Linked DNA regions of Homo sapiens: region 1 is linked to region 2. Evidence: promoter capture Hi-C in 16 types of primary human blood cells and fetal thymus (Javierre and others, 2016). All regions are on one chromosome and are shown on one strand. The core of a region is centred on a gene start or on the middle of the fragment in contact, and the rest is flanking DNA. Distances in the headings are between cores, read along the strand shown.

The links. The method cuts DNA at HindIII sites, captures the fragments that hold promoters and counts their contacts. A CHiCAGO score of 5 or more calls a contact.
Region 1: a fragment that was not itself captured here is called in contact with the fragment with the promoter of CMC1 in region 2 in 1 of 17 cell types (M2 macrophages); the score reaches 5.2 in M2 macrophages.

Annotation. Positions count from the first base shown.
Region 1 is chr3:27,971,490-27,976,098 of GRCh38, forward strand. No RefSeq gene overlaps it. Among named protein-coding and RNA genes, the nearest start is that of LINC01967, 55 kb to the right of the region's middle. The HindIII fragment of the contact is 3,241 bases long and covers 1,722-4,609 here.
Region 2 is chr3:28,238,416-28,243,274 of GRCh38, forward strand. It overlaps CMC1 (C-X9-C motif containing 1), which reads left to right and starts at 3,204. Exons shown (of 4, transcript NM_182523.2): 1 at 3,204-3,397. The coding sequence starts at 3,379. RefSeq lists a silencer at 3,417-3,496. The HindIII fragment of the contact is 9,835 bases long and covers 1-4,859 here.

The DNA.
Region 1 (4,609 bases), core at 2,092-4,591, 270 kb before region 2:
TAGATTTCCAAAAGCCAGCATTAAAATTAATCTTAAGCTCTAAGTTTCATCAATGCAGAATTTTTTTTAGGGGTCAGGTAACTATGAATTCAAGTCAAGAACTAGAAAAATTCCATGCTTTGTTTTCATGCTTCCTCACCTCCCAACCCCCGAAATCCAAACATTTTTGGATGTGAAGCACTTTCCAAATCAATAAAGACTCCTTAGTCACATGAGGCTAAAAGGATCACAGCCAGAAAGCTGTGATCAGTGAGCTCAGGCATTCTGCATAAAGCCTAGATGTGACCTCCAGAGGACAGCCAATTCAGGTTCAGCTGGCCTCCACGTGGTGATAAAACCAAAATGTAAATCCCATGAAAGTAGGAACTTTGTTTACTTCTGATTCCCAGCACTTAACATAATGCAAGGCACACGCTGAGCCCTGAATTAGTATTTGTTGACCGAATGTTGAATGAATACATGAACAAGCGCTGTGTCATGTAATGATCAATGTACCCAACAACCAGTATTTAAATGGCTATTCAACTTAAAAACATTTGTTTTTCTCCAGTTGCAAGCTTAAACTACACATACACACATATACACACACTCATAAGTATTTTGTGTATTTACATATGTATTTTTAAAGCATTGAAGCGCTCCCGTCTTGAAATGAGTATCCTAGGTGCTCCTCAGTGGTTCTAAGTGGTTCTGGGTGAGGATGGTTTGTGTAGCTCCTGAATTTTAGCCTTGCTCCTGAGCTCAAGAGCTTAAAGATCTGTAGAAGCTGCAGAGTGGAGGCAAAACTTAAGAAGCAGCTCAAATCTAAAATGAAGAATTAAAAATAACAAAATGAAAATAAAGATCACCAACTCCATCCATTAAAACCTATAAACAATAATGGAATCGTACTATACATATATCCTACAACTTTTTTTGTTCCTGGCTGTTTCCATAAATGTCGATCTCCTACATTATTTTGTACTCGTGTCGTTCCATCATATTAGTGTACCATTATTTAGACATTCTCAGACATTCTGTTATAGATGGGCTTTTTTTTTTTTTTTTTTTTTTTTTTTGGCAGGATCTTATCATGTTGTCCAAAGCTGGCCTTGAACTCCTGGGAGTCAAGCGATCCTCCCACCTCAGCCTTCTGAGTAGCTGGGATTACAGGTTTAACCACCATGCCCAACCTTGATGGGCCTTTTAACATGCTGCAGTGAGCATGTTTGTAGAACTTTATGTACTTGCAATACTTTAGGATGGATTCCTAAAATTAGATTTGCTGCTGCCAACATTTTCTTCAAAACAGTACACCTGTAAGTCCTTAGCAAACAGGAGTTTCTTCTTTCCCAAAATTTTTTTCCAGCATTGGTTCTTAGCAAGCTATTTAAATTTTTGTCACTGATAAGCAAAATGGCTTCTTAGTCTTTTAAATTTGCATGTCCTTAGTTATTGCCAAGCTTTTCCATCTCTTCTATGTTTATTGGCCATTTGTGTTTATTTTGTGTGAACTGCCTGTTTAGATCCATTGCTTAATTTTCTATTACATTGACCTTTTCATATTAATTTATTTAAAGTAATTTTGTATTTTGAATATTAACCATTTATTTGTAATATATTGTGTTTTCTCCTAGTCACTTTTATTTTTATGTATTCTTTGCTTTAAAATTTTAAAAAATATTTATACAGTTATTAAATTTTTGTATTGGGAGTTTGAATTTTAAGCTTTCCCACCCCCAAGCTTAGAAACTATCTTCCATACCTTTAGTTTTCATGCTTTTATTTTTTTATTTTTACATTTAGATCTCTAATTCAGATGAAATTTATTTTTGTATGTAATACAAGGTAACATCTAACTATTTTCTTATATATAAACATCCAATTGCTTTAACAGAATTTGCCTCAATCCATTTTCCTTGGGATTTAAAATACTACTTTAGCACATATTGAAACAGGATATTTCCCTGACCCCTTCGCGGGACTCTTGACAGGGGTGCCATGTTTACTCAGCCTGTCACTCTCAACTCCTTGCTGGAGGGAGTGAGTGGGCAAACGAGGCGGGAACTGGAGTACACCAGCGCTAGAACAAGTTAGCTGCTTCAGTGTCAACAGGAGCAAACTCCACTAACTTGGACCTGCTCTATTCCACTCCTCACAGGAGGGAGTGTGCAGGTGAGCAGGTGCAGGAGCTGGGGTGAGACTTTTGGGCACCAGCAGGAGCAAACTCTGTGCAGGCCCCACGACAGCATCTGTGGGGGTACCTGTGACTCCTGAAGCCCCAGTGGGCATGTTACAGTACCCTTTTAGTTCTGCTGTCCACATATAGTTTAAGTGTCAACAGGTCAGTGGGCCCTTTTTTATCTGCACTCGCTCCTGAGCTCTTGTCTATTGTCAAGGAAAAATGAGGTTGCATGAACCAATTGAAGGATGGTAAATGCAGGGGATTTTATTGCCAGTGAAAGTAGCTGTCAGTGGGAAGGGGAGCTGAAAAGGGGACAGGTAGGTAGGTAATCTTGTTCAGAAGTCTGGCCAGAGATGGCTGGATTCTTCTCTGAAGTTACACCCTCAAGCTGTCCCTCTGAAGTCAAGCCACTTGTCTCCAGTGTCCAGCCATAGTTGTCCTGACATCCAGCTGCTTGTTCCTCTCTGCTGACTGAGTCTAGGGTCTTTATAGGCAGAGGATGAGGTGGGGTGGGGCCATGGGTGGTTTAGGAAAAGGCAACATTTGAGTGGCAAAACAGGGATTTTGGGCTGCAGTTTCAGGCTTTTCAGCTTGAGAGTGGGGCTTCACCATGAACCCCTCCCTTTTCTGCCTAGAATTTTTCTGCCTCCTGTCCCTATGAATATTAAATCTCTACTTATTCTACTCCTATAATTACTCTGTTAATGCTAATCTCCTAATTATGATACATTTTCCAAATTATCTTGGCTATTTTCATGTATTTTCCCAGGTTTAATATCAATTTGTCAAGTTAAAATTAAATACACATCTAAAACAATTGCTTTTGTAGTGAATTATCTGAAATTTACATATTTATTATTTCCATTAGATAATACGGCATATCTCTCCATTTTTTCAGACATTATTTCATGCCCCTCAGTACAATTTTAAAGTTTCCTAGATATTCTAATATTTTTGTTGCATCACTTTATGCAATAGTTTTTTCTTCATTTAATCTACCAAGGAAATAAAAATGTGCTAATAGGTTTTTTAAATATTGAATCATCCTTGAAAATGGTGTATTTTAAAAATTGTTTTACTGCATTTGATTTTACTGCACTGACATTTTGCTTAGAAATTTTTGTTTGTATATTAGTAAGGGATAAATCACTAGCACTTTTCTTTTAGTGCTATCTTTTTTTTTTTATTCTGATGTGAACATTGCATTGATTTTGTAGTCTGAATAACACAAAACTGCCTGTTTTTGGAGAGTTAGTTATACTCTGAGCCTGGAATCTTATTACAGATCTTTGACAAACTTTTCATTTCCTCTCTGGATTAGTAGTCTACTTGATTTTCTATCTTTTCTTGAGTATTTGTTTCCATTTATGAATGTCTTCTGTATGTATTCAGAGAGATTTTCTGCACAGGTCCTTAGGGATGCTTACCTCCGCCAGTATTACAGTATTTTGGGCAACTCTTCCCCCAAATAATTCTCTCTAGCACTACCCTCTGACCCTAGATCACACAATTCAATACTACCAAGTGCTTAAGAAACTTAGTATCTGAGTGCCAGTTAGATTAGTACCACCAATAAAATCATGCTATGCCTTTGTCATATAAGCACAGAAAGGAAACAATCTTGACCTCTATATGCCAGCTGGCCACAATAGGCAACCTCAAATTCCCTGATGTGGAATTTTCAAGCAATTGAAACTAAGTCTACATAATTTCCCTAGCAATCAAAGAGACAACCTCCACCTCCCCACTCCCTCAATCCTTTTTGGTTTTTCACTAACAGCCCTATAATATCACAGCTTTACAAACGTCCTGGCATTTATTTTCTTGCTGTACAGGGTAGAGACAAAATAAAATCCTTTGTGGACCTGCAAGGAAATTCTCAATTATGTTTTCTTCTTTTACTTGAAACCACCTACTCTTTTTCTTTGCATATTTTTCAGTTGGATTAAAGAAGGCTGGAGTTGAAAATGTTCTGACACTTAAAAAATAGTTTTTGTCAGGAGGGTTTTTCCCAGTTTGAAAAATAATTCAGTGTGCCTCCAAATAAACAAATGCATCACAAGAACTGGAAGCCAAGAGGCTAAAAACCAACCAACCAACCAAACAAACAAAAACAAAAACAAAAGAAACTCAACCCTAACATCTGCTTAGGTATATGTCAGTACTTGGCGGAAAAAAATTAAACTCACATCTGTTATGGCTGCCTAGATCCCTACAATGTGACATATGCTTCGATAGGTCCAACTGGAAAGCAAGACCCAGGAAGAGACAGATTCAGCTTTCAGCCAATGATTCTTTGGATTGTCAGAAATTTGGCTTTAAGTTTCAAAATCTGCTCTCGACTTTCTCATTAAATTACCTTACTACAGATAATCAGATGGTGATGTATACAGTTTCAAAATAGAGAAGGTTTAAAAAAATATTTAGTTCATGGAATTGTTTTAC
Region 2 (4,859 bases), core at 1,954-4,453:
TTCAAGTTTTATTCTCATCTGTAGCAGAGCCAAGCTGCAGATGAAAAGTCTTTACTTCTGATGCTAAGAAGAGGCAGAAGCAAGGAGGGGCTGACTGATAATCTCAATTTCAAAAAACAACTAGCTGCATATCAACATATAGCATAAAGGAATGTTAGATCCAATTCAGAATTGACTCAAAAATAATCAAGATACTTGTTTCTACTTGCACATTCCTTTGCCTTCACATACAAAGAGAAATTCACTGTGGTTCAACTACTGTTATTACCCTGCATTACTGCAAATTTCTCTGAACTGATCTTTCTGTTTCATTATCGCCACTGTTAGCCCCCAATAATGAGGATCAAGGCAGATCATTTCAGGCATGAATAGGCACATTGCCATGATTTTCTCATTTGTCTGTATACATTTGCCAAAAAAAGGAATTATCCAGAAATCTTGACTCTTTGTCTTAGTCTTCTAAATCCAATTTCAAAGGATAGATTCTTCCTTTGCAATTACTCTCACATCCATCCTTTTATATATCCCAGTTGAGGCTCTTTTCATATCTTGCCCAAACCAGTACAATAGCCTCCTTACTTTTCTGCTTGCCTTTTAGCTCTTTCCTCGCTGCCTACATTCATCCTGCGCAAAACTTTTATAAAACACCTTTAGAAAATTTTGACCACAATGCTCTTTTCCTATATATTAACCTTCAACAGATTCTGGTTGCTTATAGTAACACATTCAAACACACCTCTGTCTAGTGTTTAAGGCTGTGGGAATCTGGACTTTTCTAGCCAATGCATAACTGCCCTAGCTTCCCAAATCCTAAAATGCATTGAAGTAGTTTCAAGCATTGCCCACCACATGCCTGCCACACAGCCCCGTGGTGCTTCCTGCCACACAGCTGGGTGCTTCCCACCCCTGTGCTTTTGTTCATGTGATTCCATTCCTTAGCCTGTACTCTGCCATGCTCCACCATGCTCTTTCAAGAACAGTTCAAATCCCAGATGCTTTTGCTCTCATTTTTCTCCCAGCATGAGATGCCCTTTTTTCTGTCTACTCATTGTACCCATCGTTCAAGGCCGAGCATAACTTCTAACTTATCTCTGAAGTCTTTCCTAACCATTGCGGCATTCAATCCTTTGAGAAAGGCTTTTGTGGGGTCACCAGTTACCAGACGTTGCCTGAGCTCTAGGGATCACAGCTGGGTAAGACACTGTTCCTAATTTCCAGGATGATGTCCTCTCCTCTTTCCTTGAGCTCCTTTTGCAGTTACTACCCAAAGAATTGCCTATTAATAATGCGATGCCTCAGGAAATTTCTTCTGTTTTTAATTGCCAATTACATTCGCTTAACTTAAAAAATGACTTATCTTCCCTAGGTATAGATTGTAAAGACTCAGTTTCCCCCCAAAGTATCTGGTTTAACATGGGAGTAGAGAGAGATATACTATTATGTATCAGGTATTGGGCTACCGTTTTTGCTAGTGCTTCTCCTGGTGTGATACGTCTAGCAGTTCATTCTATGGGGCACACAAAACCCATGATATTACAGATACTGTTGCTTAGGATAAGGCTAAAGTAAATAGTGCCTATTTAAGTGTTTTTAAAAATGTGTTGATTTAAAAACAAATGTTAAATAGTAATGTTTCAAGTAATAGCTATGGCAGAAATGGTAGAAGTGGTCCTTTAAAGTCTTTCAAATGCATTGTATGATATCACATTTATTCCTCAGAACAACCTTGTAAATTGGAAACCAAAGTCCAGAAAAATAATAGAACTTACTCAACTCACTAAGATAACAGATCAAACTTTCCTCCTTTACCATAATACCCTTTTGCATATAGAAAGATTTAGTTTAATTCTTGAATATGGGTGTCTGACCTGTGTTTTCATACTCCATCTCCTCAAAAAGATTGCTTTAGCTTTCTAAATCAAATCCTTCACCTTCAGAACAATAAAAGAGGCATACCAGAGTCATTTTGGTGTATTTCTAAGCATATTTACAAAATATACAAGGAAAAGGACCTGATTCCCTGGCTGGGTGAGTGAAACGTTAATTCTTCACCTTGGCACCTCAACCTACAGCTGTAATAAGGGCCGTTATGCCCAAATAGGCCCTTAAACGGAAGACCTGCTGAGCAGAGACCCACTTTCCCAGCCCTGCTCAACTGCCTCAGCTTTTCTGCCAACTGACCAGGCGGAAGCAGCAGCAGGGGAGGAGGGACTGCAGGTAGGTGGGGAGGGGATCATTTTGAAAGCCCTGAATCCCTTGCAGGGAAGAAGCAGCTGCTCCTTGTTTTTCTAAACATCTGTCCCATCTGTCCCAGGCCTCAGCTCACCCTTTCGTGGCTCGAGCCAGTTAAACGTGAATTTGACAAGGAAGCACTTCTGAAGGCTGGTTTGTGAGTGGAAATGAACCTAAGTGCCACCTAGAAAGTTTCTTCTATTGAGAAGAGGTGAGTAGTGGGTCTTCAGCGGGACGGCTATTACCTTCCTTCATTTTACTCTCACAAAACATACAGCTTTTACTGATAGAGGCAGGATTTGTAACATCACCCAAATCATACTGTACGTCCTGAGGATATTATTTCACAACATAGAGGTACTTCTAGAGCCCATATTTTAACGTCTAGGAGAGCCACAGTCTTTGATTTGAAGGAGAAATAACGATATTGCACACACCATATCACCTTTATGGTAGAACAAGCTGTGAACAACTAGTGCGTGTGGCGTTTATCACATTTAACAGCGTGTTGCTTTTATTTGTCTCCTCTGCCACACTGCTCCTTGAGAACAGGGACGTTATTTTTATTGTTATTTTCCCCTCGTATTCAGAACCGTGGCTGGAACTTGGCAGGCATGAAATAGACATTTATGAATGAATGAACGTTAACGAAGAAAAAAAAAGGAACTGGATGATTCATTTGGTTCTCCGAAGGCGGGTATGGGGGACGGGGCTCGGACTTTGGCCCAGTCACCGAGTGAGGCACAGTCCCAAAGTCCTGCAGGTCCGCCTCCAGTCACGGCCGACCCGGGTCTGCAACTGGTGCACAAGCCTCCTGAAGCGAGGCTGCGCGCGTCCTGCACGGTCCCGCCCCAAAGGCACGCAGACACGCCCCCTTTCCTGGTCATTCCCCCTGCGAAGTCAGTTCCACTCTAGTTACAGGATTGGGGCGGGGCCAGAAAGGCGCAGGCGCAACGGGCGGCGGAAGTAGGAGCCTGGGAAGGAAGAGGGAACGGGTCCTGGCGGTGCTTTGCAAAGGGCCCGTGTTTCTGTTGCGGGAAGCTCCCGGGGGTCGCACGTGCGTCCGAGCCCAAGCCCCTCCCCTCCACTCCCCTTCCTGCGTGCCCCGGAGCCGCCAAGCGGCTACGTTCTTCTCGGCCCGCCGAGATGGCGCTCGACCCCGCAGGTACCGGGGCGGGAAGCGGGGTTTGCCGAGGGGCCTCGCCCCGGGTCTCACGCCGCGGGCCATGCGGGCTGGATGCCGACCTGGGAAAGGTGCAGAGCTCTGGGTAGCATTGCTTCCACCAGCGTCTCCTCATACCCGGCGGCTGCTTCGCCCGGTCTGAGGTCATCTTCTCACTTGTTGGGGATTATGGTTATCTGAGGTTGCGTTTGTTGTCTAAAGTATCATCCATTGTGGTTTCCAACTTAACGCGACTAGTCTCTTCATTGTCACCCTCTTTTCGCCCCTTAAGGTCACAGATGCATTTAATGTATGCTGCAGACACTCTGGCCCCAGAAAAATTTGTATATTTGTTCTGGCGCACAGTTTTACATTTCTGTTTGGGAGTTCATGGACCCCGAGTTCATCCTTGTAACCCAACTTAAAAACATATTTCAAAGGATCCATCACTATGGCAGGAGTCAGTTTCTTTGGAAAGGATCTTCAAAATCTTGAATGTTGTTTTAATCTCTTTGCTTCCAGCCACTTCCGTTTGCAGCAATAGTTAACTTACCCTCGAATTCCCGTCCTTGTGGAAGGTCACCTGCAGTATCTTTGCGTTAGGCTATTTTTGCAAGGGAATAGATAACATTTTTGGAGGGAATGGTAGTTGGTCTAGTCCATTTCTTTCATTTTATGGATACAAAAAGTCAAAACATTGAGAGGTAAATGGCGTCAAACTTGGGAGATTCAGAAATGGAAAATGCTCTTTCGGAGCCTTCAAGGAGCATGGAAAATATATGTAGCACAGAAATAATGTTTTAATTGAACATGTTATTACCATGCTAAGTGTTCTCTATTATCCAACAATAATATGTGGTATGGTAGGTCCTTTTAGCTCCATTTTACAGATTAGGAAACTGAGGCGAAGAGAAGTTAAGTGACTAGTCCAGCAGGTAGTGGTAGATCAGGGAGTACTCTAATTTGAAGCATAGAGGAGTTCTGGAACATAATGATCATATTCATTTTGGACTAGGTGGTTATGAAGCAGTTAGCAGTTGATCTGGGCTTTGAGGGATGGAATTTCCAGTGGTTGGAGCTGGAGAAGAGGCAGCCCTATGAGCAAAGGTTTAGATAGTAAGGTGCACTGTGCGATGCTTGGTTTCAGGATGACTACCATGATTTGGTTCTTGAGGGTAGAAGGGGTAGAGTATAAGTGAGGGGTGAGTAAGGAAGGTTCAAGTTTAGGCCCATATAATTTATGGTATCTTTTTTTTTTATTTTACTGAAACGGAGTCTCACTGTCGCCCAGGCTGGAGTGCAGTGGCGCTATCTCGGCTCACTGTAGCCTCCGCCTACTGGGTTCAAGCAATTCTCCCACCGCAGCCTCCTGAGTAGCTGGGATTACGGGCGCCCGCCACCACGGCCGGCTAATTTTTGTATTTTTAGTAGAGATGAGGTTTCGCCGTGTTCGCCATGCTGGTCT